Linked DNA regions of Homo sapiens: region 1 is linked to region 2. Evidence: promoter capture Hi-C in 16 types of primary human blood cells and fetal thymus (Javierre and others, 2016). All regions are on one chromosome and are shown on one strand. The core of a region is centred on a gene start or on the middle of the fragment in contact, and the rest is flanking DNA. Distances in the headings are between cores, read along the strand shown.

Evidence for each region. The method cuts DNA at HindIII sites, captures the fragments that hold promoters and counts their contacts. A CHiCAGO score of 5 or more calls a contact.
Region 1: a fragment that was not itself captured here is called in contact with the fragment with the promoter of ABCD3 in region 2 in 1 of 17 cell types (non-activated CD4 T cells); the score reaches 5.1 in non-activated CD4 T cells.

What each region holds. Positions count from the first base shown.
Region 1 is chr1:91,010,858-91,014,899 of GRCh38, reverse strand. All of the region lies in intron 1 of ZNF644 (zinc finger protein 644), which reads left to right. Among named protein-coding and RNA genes, the nearest start is that of ZNF644, 9.2 kb to the left of the region's middle. The HindIII fragment of the contact is 3,689 bases long and covers 584-4,042 here.
Region 2 is chr1:94,416,133-94,419,982 of GRCh38, reverse strand. It overlaps ABCD3 (ATP binding cassette subfamily D member 3), which reads right to left and starts at 1,594. Exons shown (of 23, transcript NM_002858.4): 1 at 1,395-1,594. The coding sequence starts at 1,504. RefSeq lists enhancers at 1,003-1,142, 1,614-2,405 and a silencer at 1,473-1,852. The HindIII fragment of the contact is 10,166 bases long and covers 1-3,850 here.

The sequences.
Region 1 (4,042 bases), core at 1,179-3,678, 3.4 Mb after region 2:
ATATCTTGAGAAGGTCTAGAGAGGAGACCTTTCTGTTCTACCTTCCTGTTCTTCTTACATATATATCCTTTTACCTAGTTGTTACACAATTTGTAAGTTTCATCTCCTAGTTTTAAAACTTAGCATTATAAAAACATTTTTCTCCCCCCCCTTATTTCAAGTGGTGTCGTATTGCTCTCATTGTCTATTCATACCACCATATAAAGGCTCTTTGTCTTGGCTGCTGGACATTGGTACAATGATGTTGACCAAAATGGATGCTGCCCTTTACTGAGTGACTAAGATGAAAAAAATCAGGCTTAATCAGAACTAATACTTTATGGGATTTGGATTGCTACAGGTTTAATCATGCTATCTATCCTTGCTGGTGGGACATTTGACTTAGAATTGTATATAAGTAAAATATAGATGAAAAATTGTATAATTTATAGCTATCTGAAAACAACTTTTTTTTAATATTTGAACACTTTGAAATGCCTTACACTTCCTTGTTAAAAATCTTAAAGGGATATTAAAATTAAATGGCACTTAATTACTATTAGTAATTCCTAATATAATATTTAATTCATAAAAGAAAAAAGCTTAATGTTGAATTCTGGCACTCATCGGGAAGATGACATTATATGTTAAGAGATAATTTGTGGGGCATAGTAACTATAGTTAATATTGCATACTTGAAAGTTGCTAGGAGAGTACATTTTAAGTGTTCACACCACAAAATATAACTATGTGAGGTAATGCATGTGTTAATTAGCTAGATTTAACCATTGCATAATTTATATGTATTTCAAAATGTGTTGTACACCATAAATATATACAATTTGTATTTATCAGTTTAAGAAGAAGAAGAAGAAAAAGGTAATTTGTGGGCATTTATAAATAGATTGTATAGGTCAGCACTGCCCAATAGAAATATAAGTTGAGCCACAAATGCAATTTTAGATTTTCTATAGCCACATCAAAAAATAAAATAAATAGGTGAAATTTTATTAATGGATTTTTATTTAACCCAGTATCTAAATACTATTATTTCATCATATAAACATGATTGAACTATTTTACATTTTTTCTTTTTTTAACCATGTTAAGTCTTCAAAATCTGTTAGTATTACATACTTAAAGCACATCTCAATTCAGACTAGCCAGAGTTCAGGTATTCAGTAGCCACATGAAGTTACTGTATTGGACAGTGCAATTACAGATAGTAAGTCCTATGGGGTATAGGGAAAGAATAACATAGAAATTGAACTGAACCGTAAAGGATAGCTGAGAACAGAAAATGCTTGAGAAGAATATTCCCATAAAGAAGTGATAGGAATTAAAACAGCAAATACAGTTTGATACCAGGTAATAGAGTGGCTTGAATCCAGTTTAGGGAATTTGGTTTGGGTGTGTATATGTGTGTGTGTGTGTGTATGTGTGTGTGTGTGTGTGTGTGTGTGTGTGTGAGAGAGAGATTGGAAATATATATTGGAGGGTGCCTAATTCGTGTCTCATACATGAGCACTTGATAAATACTGAATTAACTGGGTGCATTGGCTCATGCCTGTAGTCCCAGCACTATGGGAGGCTGAGGTCGGCAGATCGCCTGAGGTCAGGAGTTTGAGACCAGCTTGGCCAATATGATGAAATATCCCGTCTCTACTGAAAATACAAAAATTAGCTGGGCATGGTGGTGTGCACCTATAATGCCACCTACTTGGGAGGCTGAGGCGGGAGAATTGCTTAAACATGAGAGGCGGAGGTTGCAGTAAGCCAAGATCATGCCACTGCATCCCCACCTGGGCGACAGAGTGAGACTCAGTCTCCAAAAAACAAAAGAAAAAAGATAAATATTGAATTAATATTTAGAGAGAATTAATATGACACTACAGAAAATGCTGGAAAAAACATCCTAACAAAGCCTAGTCGATCTTCAAAAGGGAAAGTGTTTCATTTAGGGAATATTGATGTTCTGTGATTAACAATATGATGGAGATTGATAAAGAAGGATGAGAATTGAGAAAAGGTTTTTAGATTTAGCTATTAATTGGTTACTTGTTTTTAAGTATTTTTTTTAGGTATAACATACAGTGAAGTGCACAAATCTTAAGTACAACTCAGTGAATTTATACATATAAGTATACCTAGGTAACTCCCAGGTAGTGGGAGGTACTGGGTTACACCTGGGGAGAAGAGGATGTAAAAAAAGCACAGACATGAGAATTGTGGAATGCAAGCATTTTCCGTGATTAGAGCCTATTTTAAATGAAATACCCAGATAGAGATGTAGAATATTTTTCTTCACTGATTAAAGGTGCCTTGTGCTCCCTCCTATTAATTTCTCCCTACAGAAGTAACCACTATTTTAACCTCTAACCTCTATCACCATAAATTAGTTTTTGCTTGTTTCTTTTTCTTTTCCTTCCTTTTTTTTTCTTTTGAGACAGGGTCTCAGTCTGTCACCCTAGCTGGAGTGCATTGGCGCAATCTCAGCTCACTGCAGCCTTCACCTCCCAGGCTCAAGCGATCCTCCTCCTTCAGCTTCCTGAGTACCTGGAACTACAGGTGCATGCCATCATGCCTGGCTGATTTTTTTTTTTTTTCTTTCGGTAGTAGAGATAGGGTTTTACCATGTTGCCCGGGCTGGAGTTTTTGTTTCTAAACTTCTTATGGCATATTTGTCCTCCCTCCCAAGGGTAGTGAGAATTGATGCTTGAATCCATCTCTCTTTTCTTCTGTCCTTGTTTGGCATTGTTATGAATTGGGAGGTAAATCAGGTGATATTTGGTACTATGGCCCTTTTTTCCCCCCAGTGACAAAATCAGAGAGGTGCTTCTTAGTGTTCATTAATAGTAATCCTTTAGAGGTTAGTTTTATGACTTGATATTTTGTTTAGAATGCAGAGATTTGAATTTGCCTCCACCGATAACATAGTTGCCTGGCTTGCTGTCATTACAGTATTCTCTAGGCATATAGCCAGGAAGTAGGTGGAGGAAGTTGTGGATTGCCTCCTTATATAGATGGTTTTTGGAGCCTCTTTGATGGTAGCTTCCAGGCATTATGTCAGTTAGCTATTAGGCATTTTAGGTTGCTTATTAAGGTATTTGGGTATTTCTGATTGTAATTTTAGAGGTAGGAATAAATAGGTGTACTTTTTTTTTATAGGTAGGCATCTACCTGTTCAACAGAAAAGTAGAATATAACTAGAATGTTACCTTATGGACAGTTGCTTACAAGTGTGAATGGTTAAAGCCCATGTAGGAGACTTTATAAATGGAAAACTGAAATAGAATTGTTGATCATGATTTTTACTTTTAGTGCTTGAATCAGTTTTTTTCCCCCAAATGGAATTAATAGTTGTAGCATTATTTTTCGTAAATACTGAGCAGTAGAAACCTTATTGTAGTATAGCAGTATTAAATTGGTGCTTTGCAGATAAAGAATTTTTTCTGAAATGGGTATTATAATGTTGTTAAACGTATATAATAAAAAATATATCTTCACATTCTAGTATATCTGGTTTTGAAGAATGAATATGTAAATTGCGCAGAAATGGGTATGAAAAGACTTTCTCATTAACATTTGGATTGTGAATGCTCGAGTTTATAAATGAAAATATTTACTCTATATAAAGAAGTTTTGTCTTTTGGAATTTGTAATAAGTTCATTTAATATACTCTTGCTCCAGGGATTTCAGTATTTGTCTTGAAGAAATAATAAAATCTCACCTGTCAACTTTTCTTATTGTAGCTTTTGTGAAGTATAGAAGGCTAAAGCAAATTGGTTAAATTAGACATTGAAAAAAGTATATGATTATTATCTCCAAAATATTGAGACTTTACACATAACAGCTTTTGGGGGCTAGATTTAGAAAATCACTAACATAAAACAATTAGAATGTTCTTAATTATAGTTTTCAGAACTGACTATGTAGAAAAAAATACACTCAAGTTTGTGTTCTATGTTTACATGTTGTTTTGACAAAAATGAATGTTATGTTTGAATTTAGTTTTGGGAGATTTCAGTTTTTTTGTATTCAGAAAAGTCTTGTTTGTCTGGT
Region 2 (3,850 bases), core at 345-2,844:
TCTTTCTACTGGCATGTTCCCAGGTAACAGGTAACTTCTATTTGCAACTGGGAGTTCATACAAACCAACAGAAAAACTTGCTTTTTATTTTCCCAAATTAATCCTTTTAAAAGCAAACTGAATAGAAGAAAAATGAGTAAGCGCTGTTATTGCCCAGACTATGCTGCAAATCATTTTCAACTCTGTTAAATGGATTTAGGAAGGAAAAGAAAGATCATCACTTCAGACTCTAGTAAGATAAAAACAGAAGGCGGCTAGAAAGAACTTAATGGAAAGGGTACTATAAACTAGAAGTCTATTTGTGTTTTAGCCCAAATTTTACTACTAATTAGATATTGTAGGCAAATCAAACACGGGAGGCAACAGTACCTGCTCAGAGGAATGAATGAAATAAAATTCATGAAAGTAGTATGTCAAGATTTAATACGAAATATTCAATGACTGGCAAGAACGCTTGGGAAGTAGCCTTTTCTCTTTCACTTGTCCAGCAAATAAAAATTGCATGTATGTGACATACATACCTGTATGTCGCAACCGTAATTCAGCTCTCTCTTTTTTACTTTTTCTGAACTGATAACCTCCCAAAGTTAAATCTAAGCACTGAAATTCTCCCGCGGTGGAAGCAGTGGCGTGTCATTAAAAAGGAGCTTGATCCTCACCTAAACCACACTCTCATCTTTCACCTACAGAGCCCAGGAAGGAAAACATTTCCCTCTAAGTCCGACAGAACCGATCCAGCCTTTCCGGATGAAATGCCACCGACCAAATGTTCACCGACCAAAGGGTTCACCGACTCCAAGGGCTCACCACTTTAGACGGCAATCCTGCCAAGTGGACCGGGAATAGTTTCATAGAAGCCACCCTCGCGACTTTCAATAGCAGTTAGTCGGGAATCGAGCCAAACCTCGTCCAAGTGACTTAGACACCAGCCTCCAGCCTGGCGAATCCAATCCCCATCCTCAATCACACATCCACGTCCCCAAAACAAATCCTTCACGGTCTGAAGATGAGATGGCAAAACCAGAACACACCCAGAAAGTTGACACAGAAGGGGGTGATGTAGGGAAGGGGGTGGGGGACACACCGCATCCCCCTCCCACCCCCAACTGGAGGCCGCTGCCTGAGTGCTGGCTGGGCGCCGGTTCGCCCGCGGGCACAGAAGAATTCGCACTCCCGGGGTGGAGCGAGGTCGCCGGACAGGCCAGCTGGGACCGACGCCGTCGTGGCGGGGACTCGCGGACACCCTGACATTGAAGTCCCACGGCAGTCGCGGTCGGCCCTCTCTCCGCCCGACCCCGTCGGGCAAAGAGACCTGTCGGCCGGGTGGGGAGAGAGAGCGCGCGGGGAGCGCCCGCTCCAGCCCGGGAAAGCTGCACGGCTACGGGCCTTCTTACCCGTGCAGGCCGAGGGCGCGGCGCCGCTTGTGGAGCAGGCAGAGCAGCAGGAACGCGGCACCAGCCAGCGAGGAGTTTCGCGCCGTCAAGTACTTGCTGAAGGCCGCCATGGCACTGCCGGTACCAGCGAGCCGGCGAGGGGACGCGGCGGCGGCGGCGGCGGCGGCTACCTTACTGCACGCAGCGCGGGGGAGACTGGGAGGAGAGCAGAGGGCGGGGCCGGCCGCGCAGGACCGCCCCCTGGCTCGCGCCGCCGCGCCGCCCGCGCTCTGGAGCCCACTTTGTACTTTGGCCCGGCGGGAGCGCGCTCGGCAGCCTCCGTGGGCGGAACAGTTCCCGGGACGCGCTCTGCGCACGCGCGGACTCCTTCAGGGTCTCCGGAAACGCGGCGCGGAGGAGCTGTTGCTACTCAGCCCTGCGAGGCGTCAGTGCTGCCCCTGCCTCACCCCTACCCTCCCACTCTTCGCGCGCACACCCCGGCTTTCACAATAACTGGATGAGCGGGCCTGGCCTGCAGCGACGACCTAGTGGGCCCTGCCTCTCCACTCCCGCGGTGATGTACCGTTACCACCCTCTTAAAGGAGCCCAGGAAGGAGGCGGACGGCCCCGTCACAGAGCGTGTAGGGAAAACACAGCACAGTGATTATCAGGACGAAACCAAACAATCGGAACTCCGCAGAGGTGTAGGGAGATGTGAGGAGAATGACACAGATCAAAGAGCTTTTTCCAAGCCAGTATTTTCCAAACCGCGGGTTATAATCTCTAGCGCATTGTGAAATTGGTTTGGTAGATCGGGATCATCACCCTCCGTTTTTAATAAAATTGAGAATAGAACAAAATAGAAAAGTTTCACAGTACATCACGTAGTAAAGGAGTTGTTTAGAGAAATTTCGATTTCAGTGTTTTGCACGTATGTATCGCCAGCGGCGATGTAAAATGTATGCAGATCTGGTCAGAAAAAAGTTTGAGAAACACTGTTCTTTGCAAAGGGACATTCAGAAGTAACAATCGTGCGTTGTATTAATGCTGGCCTCACTCCCAGAATCAGAAGGGCTTTGCAGATTACAACATTCTTCTCCTGTCTGACCCTATGTTGCAGGAATTGTTATCGCCAGCATTGAGCCTAGCATATATACAGTAACAGTGAATCGCTGTTTTCAGCTGAGGAAACTGGAGAAAAGCAAGTGTGTCAGAAAATAAGCTCATAAAACCTCGCATAATGCACATACATATTAAAGTAGCCTACAAAGTAGTGGTGCTGTGCCCTAGGTGTTTTCTCAATATAAATGAGCTGTTGCCTAATACAGGTTATGAGGATCACAAAGACGAGGTACAATAATGGCATGCGTATAGAGGTGCTCAACAGTGAATTCTAAATTATGCAGAACTGAAGCTCCTACTAATTCACTATTTGTCATGTGGACATTTTCATTACCTGGAGGGACAAAAGGTTTTGGCCCTCTGAAAGTTAACTGAAAACCGCTGACATAAGGCAGATTAATAGAAGAAAAAATTAATAGGAGAAAAGGCATACAAATTTAATGTGTATACATGGGAGCGTTCAGAATGGAGACCCAAAGATACTTGGAAAATTGTCCATTTTTGTGTTTAGGTTCAACAAAGTATGGACAGCTATGTAGAAATGTGATTGGACAAAAATGGTATAATCTAATGCTAACAGACTGAGTGGGGACACCCAGCAAGGCCTGTCTAGATTCTTCTTGGCCTTCTGAGCACCATTCCTTCCTTCTGGGTATAGGGCAGGAATGGAATGGAGCTCTTAACAGCCTACAGTCAAACAAGGCAGGTCAGATAATTTCTTTATGGCCAGATTTTACAGAAAAAGGGGGAGGGAAAACTAGCAAAATATGTTTAGGCTTTTATGGCTGGCTTTAGGGGATAGAGGTTCTGGTTTCTACATCTTGTCTTGAGGAATAGGGATCCTAATATCTATGGCTAGCCTAGGGAAATACGGGACTGAGAGACAGGAGGGCCAGAGTAGGGCAGAGAACTTTTGCTACTGAGACCTTCATTTTGGAGTATTGTGTTGTGAGCCCCAACGACCTCACATAATTTACGTAATTAAGTATGCCTGGCACAGATAACACAAGGATGAACAGATCATGGAGATCATATTCTCCAGAGGCTGTTAGAGAAGAAAAACGTGTAAAAAAAATCAAGTATAAATGTGGTAAGTACTATATTAGAGATATGAACAAGGTGCTATGAGAACACAAACATGAAAATATTTAGTTTTGTCTAATGCTTTCAATAAAGGCTTAAGGCTTGACAAAGGTGATTCTGTAGCTAAATTCTAAAGGACCGCAGGAGTCACTCAGGAGGACAAAACAGGAAATTACTAATTCAGTAATAAAGTGCTAGAAAAGAGTTGGGAACCTTGTGAGAAAGTAACGGTATCATCTTAGAGTTTGTAACAGTGAAGGAAGTACAAGCAA